Linked DNA regions of Homo sapiens: all the other regions are linked to region 1. Evidence: promoter capture Hi-C in 16 types of primary human blood cells and fetal thymus (Javierre and others, 2016). All regions are on one chromosome and are shown on one strand. The core of a region is centred on a gene start or on the middle of the fragment in contact, and the rest is flanking DNA. Distances in the headings are between cores, read along the strand shown.

Region 1 (4,788 bases), core at 861-3,360:
TGCCTCCCAGGTTCAAGTGATTTTCCTGTCTCAGCCTCCCAAGAAGCTGGGATTACAGACGTGCACCATCACACTTGGCTAGTTTTGCATTTTTAATAGAGATGGGGTTTCACCATGTTGGCCGGGCTGGTCTCGAACTCCTGACCTCAGGTGATCCACCCACCTTGGCCTCCCAAAGTGCTGGGATTACAGGTGTGAGCCACTGCACCCAGCTGATAAAAATAAATTTAAGTGACAATCAAAATGCAATATATAAATCTTGTTTGGATCCTGACTCAACCCAGCAATAAAAGGAATATTTGGAACTATTGGAGCAATTTAAATATGGATTGGATATGAGTTAAGGAATTATTACTAATTTTCATAGTTGTAATAAAAGCATCATGATTATGTAAAAAAATACAATGTGTTAGAAATGCATACTGGTATGTAAATGAAATTGATAGAATGTTAGTAATTATTATAGCTGAGTGTTCATTATTGTTCTTTATACTTTTGTATATATATTTGAAATTTTTCATCATAAAAAGTAAAAAATGAAAGAGCAGGTCAACTAAAAAGGAAAAAATAGAAATAAGGGGGAAAAAACATCTTACCATCCTGGGAATTCTTGTTTACAGAACCAAAGGCTATCTGGTGAAAGTCCTTGACTCCAGCAATCAATCCTGGCAACAAGTCTGGGTTTATCTCATGCACACGTCCTCTGTTTCTCTGCAACACATATGAAGCCCTCAGATGGCTTCCTAGGCGCAGGAAGTTGTGGGGGATTGTTTTTTCTGTTTAAAGCACTGATACTTAGCAACACTATCCTGCAATGAGACAGCAGAGTCATCCATTGCTGCCATCAAACCACAACTTAATAAGTTAATGGTCAAATTGCCTGTGTCCCACTGATGTTAGTAATGAAGTAGCTAACTACAATTTTAGATCAATGGAAACCCCTTGCTTGACCATAAACCCTGTGCTTCTGGAGACCATGTGTACTTTTGTCATTGTCAAAAACCAGTGATTGCCCGAGCTCGGTGGCTCACACCTGTAATCCCAGCACTTTGGGAGGCCAAGGCAGGCGGATCACGAGGTCAGGAGATCGAGACCATCCTGGCTAACACAGTGAAACCCTGTCTCTACTAAAAATACAAAAAAATTAGCTGGGCGTGGTGGTGGGCGCCTATAGTCCCAGTTACTTGGGAGGCTGAGGCAGGAGAATGGCGTGAACCCGGGAGGCGAAGCTTGCAATGAGCCGAGATCACACCACTGCACTCCAGCCTGAGCGACAGAGTAAGACTCCGTCTGAAAAAAAAAATTGTGCTAAGAAGCACATTTTCTCTCCTTTGTCTAAAAGTGAAACTTCAGGAAATTTTGACATTTAATTTTCCAGAGTGTTAATTTAATGAGTAGTTTCTAATTTTAAGCTCCTACCCCATCTTAATGTGAGAATTAGTGAAATAAATAACATTAAACCATTTTTTAATTTTGGGAGTAAAGACAATAAAAATATGAGGTATTGCTGCTTGAATTAGTAAAAACACAATTTAAACCTTGTTTCTTTCAGAAGTTTTGAGGCCAAAGACCGTAATAAAACAAACTCAGGAGCTTATTTCAAGAGAATACTGTCCTTGTCTCATACCTGTCCTTACTACTTTGTTTTGTGTGCTATTATAAGCTCCTCAACCATCTGACCAAGACAGTTGCAGTGATTTGGCTTCATCCATTCTCGTTTAGTGTGCAGTGCTATGGCTGCAACATTGTGAAATCAATTCCTAGAAGTCACAAAGCAAGAATTTGACGTGAAGGGATGTCCCTCATTTAGAATTCCCTTCTGGATAAGATACTGGGGTTTCATTGCAGGGAATTCTTGAGAGAAAACAATAGGAGGATGAGGGATTGTGAGTTGTGTTTTTTTTTTTTTTTCCTAAAGAAAACTATTAATAAAGGAACCCTGTTGACAGTGTAAAGCAGTGCTTCTCTCTGGGGCCAAGGCCAGAGCTGTGGACACCTTATCCCACTCATCCTCATCCTCTTCCTCTGATAAAGCCCCTACCAGTGCTGATAAAGTCTTTCTCGTGAGAGCCTAGAGGCCTTAAAAAAAAAAGTGCTTGAAAGAGAAGGGGACAAAGGAACACCAGTATTAAGAGGATTTTCCAGTGTTTCTGGCAGTTGGTCCAGAAGGATGCCTCCATTCCTGCTTCTCACCTGCCTCTTCATCACAGGCACCTCCGTGTCACCCGTGGGTGAGTCTCATGTCAAGAACTTGGCACAATGCACTTTTTGTTGTGGCAATTTGCTATAATGTACAGATGATTAAGAACTAGATTCCAGTACCTTAAATGCTAGCTCTAGAATCTTGTAAGAAAAGTCCCTAATAATCCTTGAAAATAGATTTCCCGAGAATTTCTGTTACATGTTCCATTTAGCCTCTTGCCTGGACTCCAAAATTTCCATGGATCTGCCATATCCCACAGCTTTCACTAGCTAAAGAGTTCCTGGAGTATGTGTAAAAATAATTCTATCTTCTTTGTGTTCTAGGCACTTTATAGTTCCAACTTGAAGAGCCAAAAAAAAAAAAATTAAAGTTGAGCATAGAATTTTTCTTTAATGAAGGCAAGGGACTGAAAGCTCTGTTGCCATGGGGGGCACAGATCTGGATAAACCAAACTCATTAGTCTTTATGTCAGAAAATAAGACTTTTTGCACAGATCGAGTGAATCTTAAATTGTCTCCCTCCTCAGGCTTGGTGCAAAACTGGCCAGTCAGGCAAAGAAAAGTTTCAATTCCAGTTACTAACAGATTTCTCTCTTGCATCTTTTTCTAGTAGAATGTGAGTACTAACTGGAACAGAGGGTGGGGGTGAGATGGAGAGAACCATCCTTCTTGACACTTTTGAGTAGCTCAGTATCTAATTGACCCTGGCTTATTTCTTCATGGTTGCTCTAGTACCTGAAAGGATACACATTAAAAATAGGCTTGTGGCCAGGCACGGTGGCTCACACTTGTAATGCCAGCATTTGAGAGGCCAAGGCGGGTGGATCACCTGAGGTCAGGAGTTCAAGACCAGCCTGGCCAACATGGTGAAACTCCGTCTCTACTAAAAATACATACACACAAAAAAATTAGATGGTCATGGTGTTGCATGCCTGTAATTCCAGCTACTTGGGAGGCTGAGGCGGGAGAATCACTTGAACTCGGGATGTGGAGGTTGCAGTGAGCCGAGATCGAACCACTGCACTCCAGCCTGGGCAACAGAGGGAGACTCCATCTCAAAAAAATAAAAATAAAAATAAAAATGGTGATTTGAGACCCTAAGGAGACCTGACACCTAAAGGTAATGTGGGATCCTGGAACAGAAAGATATGGGTGGAAACTAAGGGAATCTGAATAAGTGTGGACTTGAGTTAATAATCAGGTATCAATAGTGGGTCATTAATGTGACAAAGGTACCATGCCAATGTGTGGTAAATGTATGGCTAAAGGTAACGTGTCATAACAAGGGAAACTGGGTGTGGGGTATGTGGGATCTCTTTGTCCTATCATCTCAATTATGCTGTAAATCCAAAACTATTCCAAAAAATATGCTTGAGCTACCTGTCATTAATCACCCCCTATCTGCTGCCAATAACTAACCCAAGGGTCGCTCAGAAAGTTGTCCTCCCGAAAATCTCCACTCCCCTTTCTTCCCACCCTTCTCCTTACCTATTCTCCCTCTAGTACCTCCTATATTCCCCATTCTTTCCATATACCATCGCCCTTCCCAGATCTTTTCCTCCAACCCCCAGCTCCTCAAGGATGATATTTGGCTCAATGCCAGAAGCATGATAAAGGGGGAACTTTGGGAACTAGAGCTGGTGTTTGCCCTGAGAGGACAGGGGAAGTGAGAGAAGAGGAAAAGAAGGGATGAGAAAGGGGGAAGCAAAGTGGGGTGATGAGGGAGGAGGATGGAAGAGGATGGAGCAGGAAAGGAGGGGCACTTCCCGACCAAGCTCAGGCACAGGGTCGAAAAGGGGCTGTGATTCAGGGGCGGCTGTCTGCCGGATAGGACCTGGAGGGTTGGAGGACTCAACCCTGGGGCGAAAGGGTGGGGACGCAGACATGGTTCCCTGCCCTTGGCCCTGCGTGGTCCTGGTGGAAGACAGCAGAGGGGCAGCTGGCAAGTGGGCATCTTAGCAAACCATTGAGGAGCTTCTGGCAGGCCAGGAAGCTGTTCTTTTTGAAGCCTTCGCACTGAGATGTATAGATCAGCATTTTAGGATGAATGTGCGCAATACCAGATTCTGGGCTTCACGCTGAGATTAAAAACAGGATATAAGACCAGTGGCCAGATTATTAGATTGGATTGCTGCCTTAAAAGGGGGTAGAGTGGGATGGGTACGTTAAATGTCAGAAAGTATTGGATGGTTAACTTTTAAAAATATATATGTATTATTTAATTAGTTATAGAAGATGGTAGATAAACTTTTCCTCCTCATACCCTATCTCCCCTACAGCAGGGGAGGAAGTGAACTTTTAGCAAACAGCCCAAGAAATGACATTTAACTTGAAGGAAAAACTTTATAAATAAGGAAATAGTTACTGAGAGAGGTTTAGGAGTTTCTGTAGAAGCGATTAAAAGTTAAGTATCTAACCATTTCTTATAAAATTAGAGCCAGGGAGAGGAATCAAATATTTCTATGACTCTGTAATCACCTGTGAAACTGCTCTGGAAACCTTATTTGTAAGAAAAAGTCACAGCTGGGAGAGCAAAGGAGGAAGAAATTTGTCCCTTTTGATGGGAGAAAGAATCTGAGGATATTT
Region 2 (4,380 bases), core at 919-3,418, 490 kb before region 1:
CTGACTAGTTTTTGTATTTTTAGTACAAATGGAGTTTCACCCTGTTGGCCAGGCTGGTCTTGAACTCCTGGCCTCAAGTGATCCACCCACCTTCCAAAGTGCTGGAATTACAGGCGTGAGCCACCACGCCCAGACTAAAGCAGTGTTTATAGGGAAATTTATAGCTTCACAAGCTTACCTTAGAAAAGGTAAGTAAGGTTTCATCTTAAGAAGCTTAGAAAAAGAAAAACAAAATAATATATACTGAAAATAAGTGAAGGAATAAGTAACAAAGGTATGAGCAGAAATCAACTCAATAGGCAACAAACCATAGAGAAAATTAACAAAGTCAAAAATTGGTTCTTTGAAAAGATTAACAAAATTGCTAAACCCCTAGGTAGACTGAGTAAGAAATATTTTTTTAAAAAAGAAAGAGAATTCATAATTTGCCAACAGTAGGAGTAAAAGGGGATTTCAGATTCTACAGACATCAAAGGGATAATAATGGAATATTATGAACAACTTCATGTCAATAAATTCAATAACATAGATGACATGGGCAAATTATTCAAAAATATAACCTAAAATTCATATAAAACACAAACCTTACATATTTACTTAAAAAATTAAATTATCAAAACCTTTTCAGAAAGAAATTGGCAAGTCCAGATAGTTTCACTGATGAATTCTATCAAATACAGCTCAGAAAGAAACAATACTCATCTTACAGAAACTTCTGAAAACAGAGAAGGAAAAATCCCTCATTTTATTTATTTACTTATTTAATTATTATTTTTGAGATGGAGTCTTGCTCTGCTACCCAGTCTGGAGTGCAGTGGCGTGATCTCAGCTCACTGCAACATCCATCTCCCGGGTTCAAGTGATTCTCCTGCCTCAGCCTCCCAAGTAGCTGGGACTACAGGCATGTGCCACCAAGCCCGGCTACTTTTTGTTATTTTTAGTTACAGATGGGGTTTCACCATGTTGGCGAGGCTGGTCTTGAACTCCTGATCTCAGGTGATCTGCCCGTCTCAGCCTCCTAAAGTGTTAGGATTACAGGCATGAGCCACCATGCCTGGCCTATTTAATTTAATTAATTAATTAATTTAGAGACAGAGTTTCGCTCTTGTCGCCCAGAATGGAGTGCAATGGCGCAATCTCGGCTCACTGCAACCTCCACCTCCCAGGTTCCAGTGATTCTCCTGCCTCAGCCTCCTGAGTAGCTGGGATTACAGACACCTACCACCATGCCCAGCTAATTTTTTGTATTTCTAGTAGAGACAGAGTTTCACCATGTTGGCCAGCCTGGTCTTGAACTCCTGACCTCAGGTGATCCACCTGCCTCGGCCTCCCAAAGTGCTGGGATAACAGGTGTGAGCCACTGTGCCCAGTCCCTAACTCATTTTATGAGGATAAAATACTCTGACATAAAACCCGAAAAGACATTACAAAAAAAAAAAAAATTACAGACCAATATCTGTCAATATTTAACAAAATGTTAGGAAATCAAGTCTAGTAATACATTAAAAAAGCTAATACATCATTACAAATTAGGTTTATTTCAGGATAAGGAATAGTCAATGTCATCTACCATATTAAAAGAATAAAGCAGAAAAGCCATATGACCATTTCAATATATATAGAAAAAAATTTGACAAAATACAGGAGCCATTGATGACAAAAACCCTTTTCAAATAACAGAAAATAATTTTCTTAATCTGACAACGAGCAACTATGAAAAATCTAATCTAATATCCAATTTAATGGTACAATATTGAATACTTTTCTCTAAAGTTCAGAAAGAAGCCAAGGATGTCCACTCTCACCACTTCTATTCAATATTGTATTGGTGGGGTAAGCAAGTGCAATAAAGCAAGAAAAAAAAAGCCATAAATTTTTTTTTAAAAAAGGAGATGAAACTATCTCTGTTTGAAGATGATAGGATTATTTACATAGAAAAACCTGAGGAATCTACAAAACAACTAGAAGAATAAGTGAATTTAGCAAAATTACAGAATATAAAGTTAATATATAAAAATCAGTTATATTTTAATATTAGCAGCAAACAATTAGAAAATAAAATAAAACCAATTCCATTTATAATGGGATCGAAAACCATAAAATACTTAAGCACAAATTTTAAAAATATATGTGCAAGACCTGTATTAATAAAACTATAAGACCACTGCTGAGAGAAAATGAGACCTTAAAAAATGGGGAGATATATTATGCTCGTGAATTATAAGATGCTATATTACACTAAGGTGTTGATTCTTCCCAAATTGATCTACATACTCAATGTTACTGTAATCACAATTCCACTTCTTTTGGCATAGAAAGTGACAAGCTGATTCTAAAATTTATATGGAAATACAAATGACCTAGAATATCCAAAGTAATCTTGAAAAAGAAGACCAAGTTGGCAGCATTTACAATAGCTGACATTTCAGGACTTTCATATATGTTCATATACTCCTTATTAAAAAAAAAAAAAGAGAGAGATGGGGTCTCACTATGTTGCCCAGGCTGGTCTCAAACTCCTGGGCTCAAGCAATCCTGCACAATCTTGGCTCACTGCAACCTCTGCCTCCCAGATTCAAGCAATTCTCCTGCCTCAGCCTTCCGAGTAGCTGGGACTACAGGCATACACCACCACGCCTGGCTAATTTTTGCAATTTTAGTAGAGATGGAGTTTCGCCATGTTGACCAGGCTGGTCTCAAACTCCTGACCTCAGGTGATCTACCTGCCTCAGCCTCCCAAAGTGTTCGGATTACAGGCATGAACCACCATGCCTGACTATATTCATACAATGGGTTACTACTCATCATAAAAAAGGATTAAACTACTGACACACAACGGAGATGGATCTCAAAAACATTGAGTGAAACCTTAGACGAGTGTACATTTATATAATTCCAATGTATGAAGTTCTAGAAAAAGCAAAATTAATCTATGGTGGAAAAATATACAGTACAAAGGTTGCCTCTTGGTGAGTGGGGGCAAAAACTGTGAAGGGGACTGAAAGAACTTTAAATGAATCTTGAACTTTAGTTAATATTCATACTGAACTAATTGGGAGTGAAGTATACTTACGTCTGCAACTTACTTTGAACATGTCAAATAAGATCAATGATTACTTAGAGAGGTGAAAATATGCATAGTCATACGATCAAGCAAATATAGCAAAATGTCAGTTGAGCTGAATATGTGGATGTTATTTAAATAATTATTTCAACTGTTCTGAATGTTTAAAAATTTTCATAATGAAATGTTGAGGGAAAAATTGTGCTTTCAATTCCTCCGTGCTCTCACGTTGCTTGTACAAACTGTAACTGAATTTCTATGAAGTAAGCCAAAGGAGCGGGGTGTTATTCTCAGAGTCATATTGTCTTAAAAAAAGTCTTAATATAAGAAATAAACTAAAGCATTCCTTCTCATCAAAGACGCAACTTAAGTTGTATAGTGACTTTAGCTTCACATTGTATATATAATGACTCTGGCTCAGATAGGGGAAGTTCTGCAGCTTCATGCCCTGTGCCTCAGCTTAGATGCTTATTTTCAAGGTTAGTCATTTAAAGATAGGCACCTGCCCAGACTACGGCCTTAGCACAAGAAAATATATTCACTGAACTTGGCATCTCAGGGTGAAATGCAAGGCTCATACAATGTCAACAAATCAAAACACCATTTCAAGGATGCCAAGAAAAACTTATCTTTTACTGTTCAGGAGGGGCAGTCACCTAAGAGATTACAGATCCAATGTTCATACCTTCAAAAAAACACTTTTTGAGTTTCATTACCTTTATCAAGAGATGCTCCAGCCATATGGTAAAAACTCAATGCAGTGTCCACATCATTAATGTTCTTTAGGAAAGTAAAGAAGTTCTCCACCTCCTGAAATGTCAGACCCTGCAAGAGGAGAGACAGCAAGGTAAGGCAGGACCTGTAACAAAAAGCAGCACGATATGCATAGGCAGTGATTCACATCTGCAAATCAGAAATTCATGCTCATGTCTAGAACAGAAACTGAATACATTAGTCAAGGAATATCAAATTCATAAACAGCAGGGGAACAAAACTCTTGAATTCTACCCTGAGAAAGGCAAACTGGCTAGTTGCTTCCCTCTCACACGTAAAATCTGAGAAAGCTTACAGTGATGGCTGAATATCTTAATGAAAATATTTCTTCTTTTTTTTTGAGATGGAGTTTCACTCTGTCACCCAAGCTGGAGCGTAATGGCATGATCTCAGCTGACTGCAACCTCCGCCTCCTACGTTCAAGCAATTCTCCTGCCTCAGCCTCCTGAGTAGCTAGGATTACAGGTGCACACCATCACGCCTGGTTAATTTTTGTATTTTTAGTAGAAACAGGGTTTCATCATGTTGGCCAGACTGGCCTT
Region 3 (4,990 bases), core at 1,582-4,081, 410 kb before region 1:
AATTTATGTTGGAGAATCGGAGCAACCGTGACCTTAACGGTATGTTCAAATAATTCATTACATTTAGAGTGAAAACAAACAAATAAAACCAACCCACCTGTTCAAAGAATAATTTTGAGAAATGACATTTTAGGTACTTCAAAAATTGGAATAGCCTCTGAGTATACTGACCAAGGCTAAGGTAACTCCAAGGCACATGAAAATGTATTTTAAATATTAATGTATTTAGAGGAACTCTCCAGGACAACTTGCCTGTTCAAATTCTTCCATATCTACTTCTCCATCTCCATTCAAATCAAACATCTTGAAGGCAATTTCAAAATTTCTCTGAGGAGCTGCAGAGGAGAGAAAAAAAATATTTAGAAGGCATTGACCAAAAATAAATCCCTTTTTAAAGAAAAACAAAAGGCTAAACACTAAAATGTAATATCAAAGTCACCATAAAAGTGACTGAGTCAAAGTCTCAATAAATGGAAAATGAAACTGCATTTATTGAGATCACCCTTTTAGGAATACTCCTTGAAACCAAAAAAGAGTAGTACTACGGCCAGTAAAGACAGCACTTGTCTACCTTTTTGTTTCAACATGCTTTGCCTTAAATGATTTAGCTTTGCTTTCAGAGACACCATCTTCTTAGCTTAGTAATATTAACGTTCTGTTGCTTCAATATGGTATTACTTATCTGGGCAAGAAAGTATGTCTAGGGTGAGACATATTGCTGCAAAGTAAGAAGTTGAAACACTACATCTTAGTCTTACCCTCACAACAAGCCAGCTTTCTACTTTGTTCTTTCTAGTCTCTTTGTTGTAAGTGCAGTCAGGAGTTCTGGGCATGTCACCCTGCCAACATGGATAATTTCAAGTTGGTTTCTTTTATTAGTTTATTCATTATCACTACAGCTCTATGGTAAGGCAGAAAAGTACACTGTAAGGTACTCAGCCCCCTATTTTTTTTTCTTTTTTTTTTTGAGACAGTTTCACTCTGTTGCCCAAGCTGGAGTGCAGTAGTGCCATCTTGGCTCACTGCAACCTCCGCCTCCAGGGTTGAAGTGATGCTCATGCCTCAGCCACCCGAGTAATTGGGATTACAGGCATGTACAACCATGCCTGGCTAATTTTTGTATTTTTAGCAGAGACGGGGTTTCACCATGTTGACCAGGCTGGTCTTGAACTCCTGACCTCAAGTGATCCACTCGCCTTGGCCTCCCAAAGTGCTGGGATTACAGGTGTGAGCCACGGCGTCTGGCCTCAGCCCCCTATTTCGATCATGTCAGCTGCATACACAAATTACTAAATATACTTAAATGGTAAAATTAAGCTGAAGTTTAAATAACAAAATGAAAAAATGCAAAGCTTGACAAAACTTTCCCTTAATGATGAAAGCTTTTCAAGGCTTCTTTAGTGTTCCTAGATCAGTCATAATATCATTAATATACTCTGTGCATTGGAATAAAATATAAACTCAACAGCCCTCCTCCCTTCCCATACTAAATGTTCTGGTAAAGAAAACTAAGTTGTTTACTTCCTTCCTTTGGTGCTTCAAATTTATACAGCTCTAGAGAATAAACCAAAATAAATATTCTATGTGTCCTTATACTAGTGAATTAAAATTTCAGTTAACATCATTTACATGAAAAAAGTTAAGATTTTATGCAGAGAAAAAAGTAAAATGAACTTTGTATATTATGTATAATTGTTAGAGAGGCCATATTCCCATCCTGCTCATGAATTTGTCAACAGAAACACTTTCTGGGCTCAAATTCCATTTTCAGGTAGTTAGGCAGCTAGGCTGGAAACTCCTGGTTTTTAGTTGCCTGGGTGAATCATGTGTGTGTCAGCTTCCAATTGTCTGCTTCACTTGATATTGACTTCCAATAGGTTTGCTTTCCTTTAGGCCAGAGACAGGGTTTCAACATGTCAGCTAGGCTGGTCTTGAACTCCTGACCTCAAGTGATCCTCCCACCTTGGCCTCTCAAAGTCCTGGGATTACAGGTGTGAGCCACCATGACCCAGCCTTCAATTGCTGGGAAGGATGCAGCTGGGGGAATTAGTTTTGTATATTTGTTGTCACTTCTCAAATTTTTGCTACCTGTCTGAATGTTACATTTTACTGAGGAGTTACTATGTGGCAGGCATTGAGCTAGATAATTGGAGGTGTTTATTATTTGACTTCATACTCTCAATCTTGAAAACTTTCATTTCTTTATTGTTTAAACAGAGGAGGATATTGGGGCTCAAAGCAGTTAAATGGCTAGCTCAAAAATCACACAGCTCCTTTTTGGCAGAAGTGGGAATTGAACTTAAGTCAACACTGACTCCAAAGCCTACAAACTTTCCTTATGTTCCAAGGCCTCTAATGTGAACATAGAGGTACTTAAAATGATAAACACACACTCTTCATGCTGACACGATTTGACCTAAAAACTAAGCAACAAAACATGACACAGTGGTTATGTCAGTCTCTGCAAAAGCTGAACATTCCAAGTTGATCATCTCAAGGAGATAACCAATATCACAGAAACACTGCCTGTGTTATGCTCAGGAGTTTAGGCTTGACCGTAGTAAATGGAAGATCCACAGGCAACATTAAACTCTCAGATAGGTTTGTCATGTGTTTTTGTTTTTTGGGACAGGGTCTTGTTCTGTCATCTAGGCTAGAATGCAGTGGCACAGTCATAGCTCAATGCAACCTCAGACTTCTGGGCTCAAGCAATCCTGCCTCAGCCTCTGGAGTAGCTAGGACTACAGGTGCGTGCCACCAAGCCTGGATAATTTTTCTATGTTTTGTGGAGATGTGGTCTCACTACATTGCCCAGGCTGGTCTTAAACCTCCTGGCCTCAAATGATCCTCCTGCCTCAGCTCCCCAAGGTGCTAGGATTATAGGTGTGAGCCACAGCACCCGGCTGGTTTGTCATGTTTTTTAAACTTCTGATTATAAATCTCTTCAGGTGGAAATGTTCTCTCTTATTCTTCCTTATTTTGTCACACTTGGCCCACTTCACTCCTATATGTTATTTGCCTAATTCCTGTAGATACTTGAGAATGTAACAATGGCAGAAAATATGAAGCCACTGAAGGTTTTAAGTAGGAGAGTGACACAATCAAGCAATTATAAAGGACTTCTCCAGCTACTGTGTGAAGAATGAGTTGGAAAAGAAAGGCCAGCTTTAAAGAAGATCAGAAGCTCTTTTAAATGTTGAAAATGCAAACTGCAGTGATGGCAGTGGTAATGGAGAGGAGGGACACATTTGAGATACCCAAAGAAGGCAGAAATTATAGAACTTAATGATTAGTTAGCTGTGATGAGTTGAGAGTGAAAAGGAATGACAGCATGACTGGCTTAGACTACTGTGTAGCTTGCATGGCATGAAGAAAGAGAGCAAATAGATGTAAAATGTTTGAGAAATAAAATGATTTCAGACGGGATCTGCTAAATTTAAGGGGTCTCAGCTTATGCAGATGAAGATGTTCAGGAGACAGTTGGAAATATGGGTCTAAAGCTCAGTGAGAGAGGTTTAAGCTGGGATTTATGGGCATACAAGTGGCTAGCTGCAAAGAACCTGAAAGGAAGTTGCCCATGCAAAACTGAGGAGTGAGGAGAAGGTCAAGAAAAGGGTAGATTGCAGGTGGAAGCCAATGTTTAAAGTGCAACGAAAAGGAAAGGAGGCAGTGACAGAGGAAGCGGCATCACAATATCCAGAGGAATACAGCCCAAATTAATAGAAATAGGAAAACATTTGATAAGAGCGAAGTCAATATGCTCCCATACATGAATTAAAGCAGTATCCCCATTCCCTCTCTCCACAATTACAGAGGTGACACAGACTGCTTACAACTTCAGCTTTATCAGGATCTTGTAGTCTTACTGTCTTGTGAGTTCCATGAAGGCATGTGCCCAGATCATTTAAATGACTGAATGAGTTATTCTAGCATATTATGGTTAATATCACCTCCTACAACTAAGGTTAAATACACTTTACCAAACAAAGTATACCCTGTAATGCTTGAGGTTTCTCTGTCTTTTTATCCTGGTATAGTTCCTTTCAAAGTACTGGCTTTATGTGGAGCAACTGAGAGTGCTTGTTAAAGTACATGCGCTGACACCACAGAGGCCATGAACCTGTGCTTGGGCCACTGCTGAGGCAAGCTGGGCTGCAGCCTTGGACATGCTCACTTGGGCCTCACCAGCCTCTCAGGGCCAGTCTTTCTAGAAAGAGCTCTCAGCCTATTCAATTTCATTGGCTGATCATGTCAAAGCATATGGGACAAACAAGCCAAAAACAAGCTTGCTTTAAGTGAAACATGCTACACAGTATATGATGTCAAGCGATTCTCTTGTAAACTTATTTGTCTCCTCTCAAATGTAGCCTTCAGGGCAATTTTTAAATCTAGTTGTTTTGGAAAGCTTATGGCATCCTGTGTTTATTCTAACTCATAATCTGTTTCCATAGAAAGGTTCTGAAAGAGGAATTTTGGTTTTTGTTTTGTTTTTTGTTTTTTGTTTTTTTGAGACTGAATCTTGCTCTATTGCCCAGGCTGGAGTGCAGTGGCATGATCTTGGCTCACTGCAGCCTTTGCCTCCCAGGTTTAAGTGATTCTCGTGCCTCAGTCTCCCAAGTAGCTGGGATTACAGGAGCACACCACCACCCCCGGCTAATTTTTGTATTTTTAGTAGAGACGGGGTTTCACCATATTGGCCAGGCTGTTCTAGAACTCCTGGCCTCAAGTGATGCACCCGCCTTGGCCTCCCAAAGTGTCGGGATTACAGGCGTGAGCCACAGCGCCCACCCTGAAAAAGGAATTCTTTTGAATGCTAGGCTACTTAGAGTGAAGAGTGAGGCTTTCCCCCCTGCTAAAACAGCATAATTTACTTTCTACACGATTTCCAAAATGGTCTCAGCAAGTGTTGAAACTGATTAGAACAATAAGACCCTACACAAAGTTTGTTACTATACACCTTTCACTTAGATTTCCTTAATAATCTTTGCTA
Region 4 (4,691 bases), core at 2,086-4,585, 440 kb before region 1:
CTAAATTAGAAATCTGAATTGAAGGATCCATACTCAGCTGATTATTTGTAGGAATCCTTTCATTTAGTCTTCACTCACTAAAATTCTAGCTTGGTAGCTTCTGGGAAATACTTTTTGCAGCACGACATATTCCCTGTTTTGGCTCTCTGGAAAGATTGGGGGATTCTTCTTGCATCCATATCAAGGCTGTTCATTATCTGGGGAATATAAATGAAGCTAGTACAGTGGCAAAAATACAAGATTTGCAGTTAGGCAGACTTGGGTTTGGTTTTTTCCTTGGTTATGTATCAACTGTGTACTTCTGGGCAATTTTTAACCTTTCTAAGCCTCAGTTCCCTCATCTATAAAATCAGTATAAAAGCAGTACCTCCCTCTTGGGATTACTGTGAGGGTAAAGTTAGATAATAGATGTGAAACCATATAAAAGCCCCAGTTTTAGGAGATAAGAACTAAGGACTAACTGTTGTCCTAATTCATCTTTCCTAAGATGCATTTACTTTTTTTTTTTCTTCACATTTTAGTATCTCTGAAATCTGTATGCTTCTTAAAATTGCTATTGGCTAAGGAGCAGTTGGCACTGTTTTCACTGACTGTACAAGTATGTCAGAGCTTGCAGAATGAGTGTCAGTAGCTTGGAAGAAAATCTCAGCTAAAAATGGATTATTCTTTTCAGAAACGCTGCACCACCGATGCTCTTGATGGCTCGGAGGACAATATTGTATGGAAAAACATAGACTTCCATGATTCAGAGTCAAAAAAAATTCAGAAGAGTTGGATCCTGAGTATGAAGAAATTTTAGACCAATTTATTTATTTTCTTTATATGTATGTACAAGAATGTCATAAAATAAAAATCTAAGCCTAATGGAGTATTTTTGTTTCGTTTTTTTGAGATGGAGTGTCACTCACTCTGTCGCCCAGCAGGCTGGAGCACAGTGGTGTGATCTCGGCTCACTCCAACCTCCACCTCTCGGGTTCCAGTGATTTTCCTGCCTCAGCCTCCTTAGTAGCTGGGATTACAGGTGTCCGCTACCATGCCTGGCTAATTTTTGTTTTTAGTAGAGACAGGGTTTCACCTTTTGGGCTAGGCTGCTCTCGAACTCCTGACCTCAAGTGATCCACCCGCCTCAGCCTCCCAAAGTGGTGAGATTACAGATGTGAACCACCAGGCCCAGCCCTAATGGAGTATTTTAATAGATATTAACTAAATATTTTTAGTGTAGAGCATTTTTGTCATGGTTTGCACAACAGCATTTTTTTCTTTCTTAGTGATTAATAAAATAATAGTGTCTCAAACCAATGTTTCTTTTAGATTCAATGAAATATGGCAGTAGGATGCCTGGCACATACTAAGAGCTCAGTAAATGTTGGCTGCTATTAATAATGATAGTAAGAACAATGAACAAAAGCTGCAAGTAATAAGTTTGTGGTCACACTTGCTTCTGTTAACTTTAGCTCTATTTAAAGAGAAATAAACTTTCTGTCTTCTACAAAGACAACAAAAAATAAGATTGAGAAAGGAAAGAAAAACTGTAAGTAAGTAATTCTCTTAATCCTCTCCTTTCTACTCTTCACATGAACATTTTGCATGTTTATAAGAAGAGAAATAAAAGAGATGGGCAAGACTGGAACTATGCTTAGAGCATGGAAAGTTGAATTATAACCTCTTTTTGCCCGTAAAAACCAGATTTCTGCAAAGGTTTACGGAAACAGGAGCAGTAGGGACAAACTATAAGGCCTGAAGTTACTATGTATGGGGCACAAATAGGTTGAGGGATAATAATGTACAAAATGCTTCCGATTCACTCTCTCATTTGAGTCTCATAATAACCTTTGAAGTAGGCATAATAGCTACTGCCTAGAGGGACCTGGGATTTGAAGAGATAATAGGACAACACCAAGATCATAATATAGGCTAGAGGGTTTTAAAATTACTCTATACAGATATATATTATTGGCATGATTATAGTCATGACAAAATTGTATATTACTGTTTCTATGAATGACTTAACAAGCCCATAATTACAGACTGACTGTAAGTATACATATATATTCCTAATAAAAAGAAGAAAAAGAAAACCTAGGTAAGCAATTATATGTTAAACTGCTAGTTTATAACCAGGAGGCAATGCTGTTAAAAATAGTTACTACTTGAAGTTTTCTATAGGAACAATTTCACAGATGCAATATACGAAAAAATCATTGGTGTACAGGCAGAAGTTAAAAAAAAAGATATGAAAAAATCAATTGTGCCTCAGTTAGGAAAATGGCCATGTTCAATGAATCTATCATGAAAAGTCTTGCTATGCTCCACAAAAGCTGGAGAGTTTAACTGAGAGGAACAGAGGTCTATTATATTAGAACGATAAAACAGTTAAGGTTATATCTGCTTTTACCTGGATGAACTGAGCTAAATTATGAAGTTGCATATTCTCAAATTTCTGCCTACACTAAAAACCTACATTTTGAGGACACCATCTGTAAAATTAGTAACACATTATTCTTCAGTCTCCAGAGCTCAAATCCCAGTTGATCTCACTTTTTCTGATGACCCACCCCTTCTTTGATTGGCTTAATCTTATCATCCATTTTAATTCTCACCATTCAGAAAGCCATTGCATAGGTGATGAGCTCATTCACATTGGGCACCATGGAAAAAGTTTATATATATGTGTGTGTGTGTGTGTGTGTGTGTGTGTCTGTGTGTGTGTATATGTGTGTGTATATATATATATATATATATTTTTTTTTTTTTTTTTTTTTTTTGAGACAAAGTCTTGCTCTCTTGCCGAGGCTCACTGCAACCTCCGCCTCCTGGTTCAAGTGATTCTCCTGACTCAGCCTCCTGAGTAGCTGGGATTACAGGTGCCCACCACCATGCCCAGCTAATTTCTGTATTTTTAGTAGAGACAGGGTTTCACCATGTTGGCCAGGCTGTTCTGGAACTCCTGACCTCAAGTCATCCGCCCACCTTGGCCTCCCAAAGTGCTGCAATTACAGGTGTGAGCCACCGCACCTGGCCAAGTTAATATTTTTTAATACACTAAACATTACATTGGAAAGTGCCCATTTTTTAGAAAAGGAGAGCTAGAGATTGGAACACAATATATAGAAATTAGAATTCAGATTAAGTTGACTGACAAGCATTAGGAAAAATGCAATAAAGATTGGGAGACTGAGGCTCAGAAACATGTAGCTTAAGGAAGCTTTAATACACAAAGTGAGAACAGTCCAAACACAGGCAGGTGAATGGCAAAGGATCTAATGGGCCACACTGTATCACTGTCATTCTCCTTTCATAAAGGAAAAAAAAAGAAAATATTTTCCCCCTTAAGAACAGGAAAACCATGAAGTCCTTTAATGATAACAATTGTAAAAAACAGCCAGGGAGAAAATTTGCAAGATTTCTTTTACAGTGCTGTAACCTATTGGTTAATTATAAGTTTAGCTGTCCCTTGCTAGACAATTAAGCTTTGTTTGTTCGTTTTGTTTTGGTTGTTTTAGATAGGGTCTCACTCCGTCACCCAGGCTGGAGTGCAGTGGTGTTATCATGGCTCACGTAGCCTCGACCTCCTGGGCTCAAGCGATCTTCCTGCCTCAGCCTCCAGGGAGCTGGGACTACAGGCATTTGCCACCATGACCAGCTAATTTAAAAAATTTTTTAATCTGGGCATGGTGACTCATACCTGAAATCCCAGCACTTTGGGAGGCTGAGGCGGGCAGATCACATGAGGTCAGGAGTTTGAGACCAGTGTGGCCAACATGGTGAAACCCTGTCTCTACCAAAAATACAAAAATTAGCAAGGCATGGTGGCAGGTGCCTGTAATCCCAGCCACTCAGGAGGCTGAGGTACAATAATTGCTTGAACCCAGGAGGCAGAGGCTGCACTGAGCTTAGATTGCACCACTGCACTCCGGCCTGGGTGACAGAGCAAGACTCTGTCTCAAAAAAAAAAATTTTTTTTTGGTAAAGACAGGGTCTCACTATGTTGCCCAGGCTGGTCTTGACCTCCTAGGCTGAAGCAATCCTCCCACCTTGGCCTCCCAAAGTGTTGGGATTAAAGGCATGAGCCACTGCACCTGGTAAGTTTCTTAGAGTACCACAGACAGACCATTAAGTCAGGTTATGTTTTAAATCCTGCAGCAGTAAAGCGTTTTTTTATTTTTTTCTTTCTGGTCATCAAGTTAATTAAGGTTTTCTTTAGTTTTTTTTTAAAAGCAACTTAAGAAACATAAACGATACTTCTCAATTTTGTGGTACTTTTTCATTTTTAAAATAGCTAATGAGGAATGTTTCATGCTTAAGTATATTGGTCTATCTCTAGATCGAACTTCACATTTACAAACATGGCTTTTAGGAGTTCCCACATATGTTTGGGAAGTGGAGTGGGCAAAATCCTGGAGAAGACAGAATTGTTGAAAGCGGGGCTGATACCCCAGAATGTGCCTAATATACTAGACCATAGATGCCACAGAGAGCTGGAGAGGGAGTGGGCATCAACATGTATGTGTACTTTGCCAGGCTTTCGTCCACATCTGATATTTACTAATTCAACACTATTTCCTGAAAATCTGGTTTGTGTTCTGTCTCTGGGAAGCACTAAGGAAATAATGGCGGGCCCAACACTCTCGTGAAAGTTCTCAGGGAGTGTTTGCAGAGAGACAGGTATTTAACAAACAATGAAATGACTA
Region 5 (5,043 bases), core at 1,436-3,935, 460 kb before region 1:
GATAAATTTCTTGATAGGCTTCTGAACTGTGCAATGCAAGACTGCATAGTGATCTCAAGCCACTGAGCTGAACACATCTGTGTTTTTGAATCTGATAGTATGTGGCTTTTGAGGTCCTAACCATGCCACTGCCACTATCAGGAGTCTCAGAATAACTGTGTTATGCCCATCTAAAGGAAAATGATTACAAGGAAAGTTCTCGACTGTAAACCTACCCGGTGAGCATGACATACACATTTCATAGTTTGAATTGAAATCTATGTTACTGCAATTGACAAGGGACACTCAAGAGCCCAGGTCAGACTGCCAGGAGTCTGAATTTTCTTGATCTTTAAAGAGGCAGCTTTATTGCAAACACTAACAAGGTTGTCTTTTGAGTAGCTGGCAAACTGAGGAAGAAGGTTCACAATCTGGAACAGAGGCAACACAGTTTAGTGCCTTCAGCAGGGGCCAAAACAAGTCATTAGAGTCTTGGTCCATAAGATTATAGATTACCAAACTCAACTGCTAGAGCTTTCTACTTCCAATCCAAACATTCCTTCTATTTTATTTTATTTTTGAGATGGAGTTTTGCTCTTGTTGCCCAGGATGGAGTGCAATGGCGCGATCTCCACTGCAACCTCTGCCTCCCAGGTTCAAGCAATTCTCCTGCCTAAGCCTCCCAAGTGGGCTGGGATTATAGGCGCTCACCACCATGCCTGGTTAATTTTTTGTATTTTTGGTAGAGATGGGGTTTCACCAAGTTGGCCAGGCTGGTCTCGAACTCCTGACATCAGGTGATCCACCCGCCTCGGCCTCAAGTGCTGGGATTACAGGCGTGAGACACTGTACCTGGCCTCCTTCCATTTAAAAATGGTTTTTAAGAAAAAATTTCAGGTTGGTGATCAAAACAACTGACTAAATGATGAGTACCAATCACAACAGTCAGACCAGGGAAAGGTTAACCCTCCAGCCTGACAGCCAAAACCACGAAGATAATAAGATTAATGCATGAATTTATTACAAGATAATAACAATCAGGAAATATTTGACTGAGGGTGTCAGGGAAAAATATTTTAGATTTGGAACAAAAGGTTTCAAGGTTTGATATGTTTTGTTTTCATTCCACAGAAGGTAATATACTGAAGTGACTAAGAATATGGACTTTACAATCAGGAAGGCCTGGATCCAAATTCTGGCCTGAACCCATACTTGCTGGCTGTGACTTCAAGGAAGTGGCTTACCCGTTCCGAGGGTTCAAATCTTCTTACCAAAAAATAGAGATAATATTCGTGACCTCAAAGTGTTGTTGTAAAGATTAAATGGGATAATATATGTAAAGAAATTAGTACAGAGTTTGAGGCCCAGTTAACATTCAATAAATGGGCTGGGTGTGGTGGGTCACACCTGTAATCCCAGCATTTTGGGAGGCCAAGGTGGGAGGATCACTTGAGGTCAGGAGTTTGAGACCAGCCTGGTCAACATGGTAAAACCCTGTCTCTACTGAAAATATAAAAATTAGCCGGGTCTGGTGGTGTGCACCTGTAATCCCAGCTACTTGGGAGGCTGAGGCAAGGGAATCAGTTGAACCTGGGAGGTGGAGGTTGCAGTGAGCCAAGATCGTGCCACTGCACTCCAGCCTGGGTGACAGAGCGAGATCCTGCCTCAAAAAAAAAAAAAAAAGAAAAAAAATTCAATAAATGTAGCAATTAATTTTATTTATTATTCAACACATTAGAATGACTTTAAGATTAAACTACTTAGAGTTTCTTGAAGCAGAACACCAACTTAATAACCTGTACCCTGGCCATAATTATAAAACAGAAAACCTGGCATAAAGAAAGAGCTCAATAAATATGTATTGAATGAACACAGACAAAACACCAGAAAATTCACAACACTTCTGTCCTATTGTTGGGAGGGTTTCCTATCTAAGGCAAGGAATATCTCTACGTTTATCTCTTAATATCTACCTCCATGATACTGATTTCTATAAGGATAGTCTTGAGAATGCCATTCATTTTGGCTAATCAGTAACATATCTGAGTGCTTATACTTGCCAGGTGCCATCCTAGGAACTAACCTTTGTTAATTCTCGCAATGCTATATAATAGGTAATAGTATTATTCTATTTCAAAAACAGAGAAAAGTGAAATAACTTGCCCACACAGTTAATGTGGAGAGAAATTTCTCTCTGGTCTCAGTATCAGAACAGTTGATATGTTCTTATTTTAAAGTCAACGTGAATCATGTTTGCCTTTTTATCCTGGTTACTGGAAAGCTTATAGTCAAGTTTGTGGGCCTCTTCTAGAATAGGAGACATTATGACTTACACTTTTCATACTAACCTTACTTAACTTTTCTTAAAAGAAAGTTAGGCTTTCTTTTACTTTCTTCTTTCTTTTAACTTTAATTTTCAGCAAGTTTTTACTTTTATCTCACTGCCTGTACTTTTTATGAATTTCTGAAATCCCTTCTTGAAAAAGGCAAGATTTAAAAAAATGGTATTGGACATCTAGGCTGTTTCATTTTTTGTCTATGGTAAGTACCACTCTGATAAACTTTTGCTGAACTTAATTTTTCATCATTATTTTAGGAATTGATCCCTAGAAACAAAATTCTGAAATATAAATTATGGGATCTTTAAAATTTTATTGTGAAATATTTGACATATACATAATAATACATATAACAGACAAGTTATGAAGCATAATAAAACAAACACCACGAGCCTCCCACTTACCCTGAGAAAGGAAGCATCGGCACTCCATTTGAAGCCCATGCCCTGCCTCCCTTTTCTAGTACATTATTAATATTATTATTTTTTAGATAGGGTCTCGCTCTGTTGCCCAGGCTGGAGTGCAATGGCGTGATCTTGGCTCACTGCAACCTCCACCTTCCAGGTTCAAGCAATTCTCCTGCCTCAGCCTCCTGAGTAGCTGGGACTACAGGCATGCGCCACCACGCCTGGCTAATTTTTGTATTTTTAGTGGAGACGTGGTTTCACTCCATTGGCAGGCTGGTCATGAACTCCTGACCTCAGGTGATCCGCCAGCCTCAGCCTCCCAAAGTGCTGGGATTACAGGCGTGAGCCACTGCACCTGGCCTATTATTTTCAATAGTTTAAAACAAAAGCTTGTATTCCTAAACAATATATTGTTTACTTTTACTTGCTTCCTAACTTTATAAAATGGTATCACAGTGGATATATTCTTTTGCAATTTGTTTTTTTTAATCCTCATTATATTTCAAGGATTCCTACATGTTACAACATTTAACTGTGCTTCTTTCATTTTTACTGTTACAGATTTCTACTGCTTTGAATATACCTTTATCTGTCTGTCTATCTATCTATCTATCTATCTATCTATCTATCTATCTATCTATCTATTTTCTGAGATAGGGTCTTGGTCTGTCACCCAGGCTGGAGTGCAGTGGTGTGATCTTGGCTCGCTGCAACCTCTGCCTCCCAGGTTCAAGTGATTCTCATGCCTCAGCCTCCTGAGTAGCAGGGATTGCAGGCGAGCACTACCACGCCAGCTAATTTTTGCATTTTTGGTAGAGACAGGGTTTCGCCATCTTGCCCAGGCTGGTCTCGAGCTCCTGGCCTCAAGTGATCCTCCCACCTTGGCCTCACAAAATGCTGGGATAACAGGTGTAAGCCATCGTGCCCAGCTTCTACCACTATTTACGTATCAGCTTTCCTCTAAATGGACATCTCAATTATTGTCAGTTTTTTGCTATTAGGAACAATGCTGTTATGAACATTCTTAGATAACTGTGCTGATGAAAGAAAAACAAGAGTTCTGAGACTAGGGTATATATCTGGAAGTGGAACTGCCGGCCTTTCAAGATAATGCCCAATCATTCTGCAAAATAATCACACCAACACTTTTTATCAGCTATGTATAAGAGTGCCCACTGCTTTGCATCACCACCAGCACTTGGTATTGTCAGTTTTTATTTTTTGCCACTCTCTTCGGTCTAAAAATGGTAGAGATAAACTATTTAATGCTCCCAATGTAGTCTGCCAAATTAATTTCCAGAAAAATGTATCAATTTGCAATCCCACTAGTATATATGAGAATATGCATTTCTTAGTATCCTTAACAAAATCAAACATAATAAAAAATCTTTGCTAGAGGAAAAGTGACAACTCATTTTAATTAGTATTTCTTTGATTACTAGGTTGACCATTTTTCTAACATATGTAGTGGTCATTTATATTTCTTCCTCTGTGAATTTTTTATGTTGTCTATTTTTAAAAATAGCAGTGCTGATACTTGTCTCATTAGCTTAAGATTAAAAATATTTGCTTTTTGTTAATGTATTGCCTTTTTTTTTTTTTTTTTTTAATTTGAGGCAGGGTCTCACTCTGTCACCCAGGCTGCAGCACAGTGGTGTGATCAACACTTAATGCAGCCTCAACTTCCTGGGCTCAAGCAATCCTCCCACCTCAGCCCCCTGAGTAGCTAGGACTACAGGCGTGTGCCACCATGCCCAGCTATGTTTCTAAAAAATTTAATACAAATAAATATAAAAACCAAATTTTCTTTTTGTAGAGACGGGGTTTTCCTCTGTTGCCCAGGATGGTCTCAAACTCCTGGCCTCAAGTGATCCTCCCACTTTGGCCTTCCAGTGTGCTGGGATTACAGGCATGAGCCACCCTGCCTGCCAATTTTTTTGCCCAGTGTATTAGTCCATTTGTGTTGCTATAAAGGAATACCTGAAGCTGGGTAATTCATAAAGAAAAGAGGTTTATTTTGGTTCTGCAGGCTATAGGGGAAGGATGGTGCCAGCCTCTGCTTCTGGTGAAGGCTTCAGGGAGCTAACAGACATGGTGGAAGTTGAAGTGGGAGCAGGCATATTACATGGCAAGAGTAAAGAGGAAAAGAGAGGGGGAAGGTTCCAGGCTGTTTTAAAAAACCAGCTCTCATGTGAACGAGAGCAAGAACTCATTCATTACTATGGGGACGGCACCAGGCCATTCATGAGGGATCCACTCCCACGACCCAAACACCTCCACTAGGCACAGCCTCCAACATTGCGGGGGTCACATTTCAA

Evidence for each region. Contacts are between HindIII fragments. The CHiCAGO score rates a contact against its expected background, and 5 or more counts as called.
Region 2: a fragment that was not itself captured here is called in contact with the fragment with the promoter of OIT3 in region 1 in 2 of 17 cell types (naive CD4 T cells and neutrophils); the score reaches 6.0 in naive CD4 T cells.
Region 3: a fragment that was not itself captured here is called in contact with the fragment with the promoter of OIT3 in region 1 in 3 of 17 cell types (activated CD4 T cells, erythroblasts and endothelial precursors); the score reaches 6.0 in activated CD4 T cells.
Region 4: a contact is called between a fragment that was not itself captured here and the fragment with the promoter of OIT3 in region 1, in 1 of 17 cell types (endothelial precursors). The highest score is 5.2, in endothelial precursors.
Region 5: a fragment that was not itself captured here is called in contact with the fragment with the promoter of OIT3 in region 1 in 1 of 17 cell types (erythroblasts); the score reaches 5.1 in erythroblasts.

Annotation. Positions count from the first base shown.
Region 1 is chr10:72,891,629-72,896,416 of GRCh38, forward strand. It overlaps OIT3 (oncoprotein induced transcript 3), which reads left to right and starts at 2,111. Exons shown (of 9, transcript NM_152635.3): 1 at 2,111-2,231. The coding sequence starts at 2,171. The HindIII fragment of the contact is 8,602 bases long and covers 1,228-4,788 here.
Region 2 is chr10:72,404,149-72,408,528 of GRCh38, forward strand. It overlaps MICU1 (mitochondrial calcium uptake 1), which reads right to left. Exons shown (of 12, transcript NM_001195518.2): 10 at 3,781-3,889. Among named protein-coding and RNA genes, the nearest start is that of DNAJB12, 51 kb to the left of the region's middle. The HindIII fragment of the contact is 3,915 bases long and covers 212-4,126 here.
Region 3 is chr10:72,476,922-72,481,911 of GRCh38, forward strand. It overlaps MICU1 (mitochondrial calcium uptake 1), which reads right to left. Exons shown (of 12, transcript NM_001195518.2): 7 at 253-335. Among named protein-coding and RNA genes, the nearest start is that of DNAJB12, 120 kb to the left of the region's middle. The HindIII fragment of the contact is 2,903 bases long and covers 1,381-4,283 here.
Region 4 is chr10:72,445,453-72,450,143 of GRCh38, forward strand. All of the region lies in intron 8 of MICU1 (mitochondrial calcium uptake 1), which reads right to left. Among named protein-coding and RNA genes, the nearest start is that of DNAJB12, 93 kb to the left of the region's middle. The HindIII fragment of the contact is 265 bases long and covers 3,204-3,468 here.
Region 5 is chr10:72,427,774-72,432,816 of GRCh38, forward strand. The region is part of intron 8 of MICU1 (mitochondrial calcium uptake 1); the gene reads right to left. Among named protein-coding and RNA genes, the nearest start is that of DNAJB12, 75 kb to the left of the region's middle. The HindIII fragment of the contact is 854 bases long and covers 2,259-3,112 here.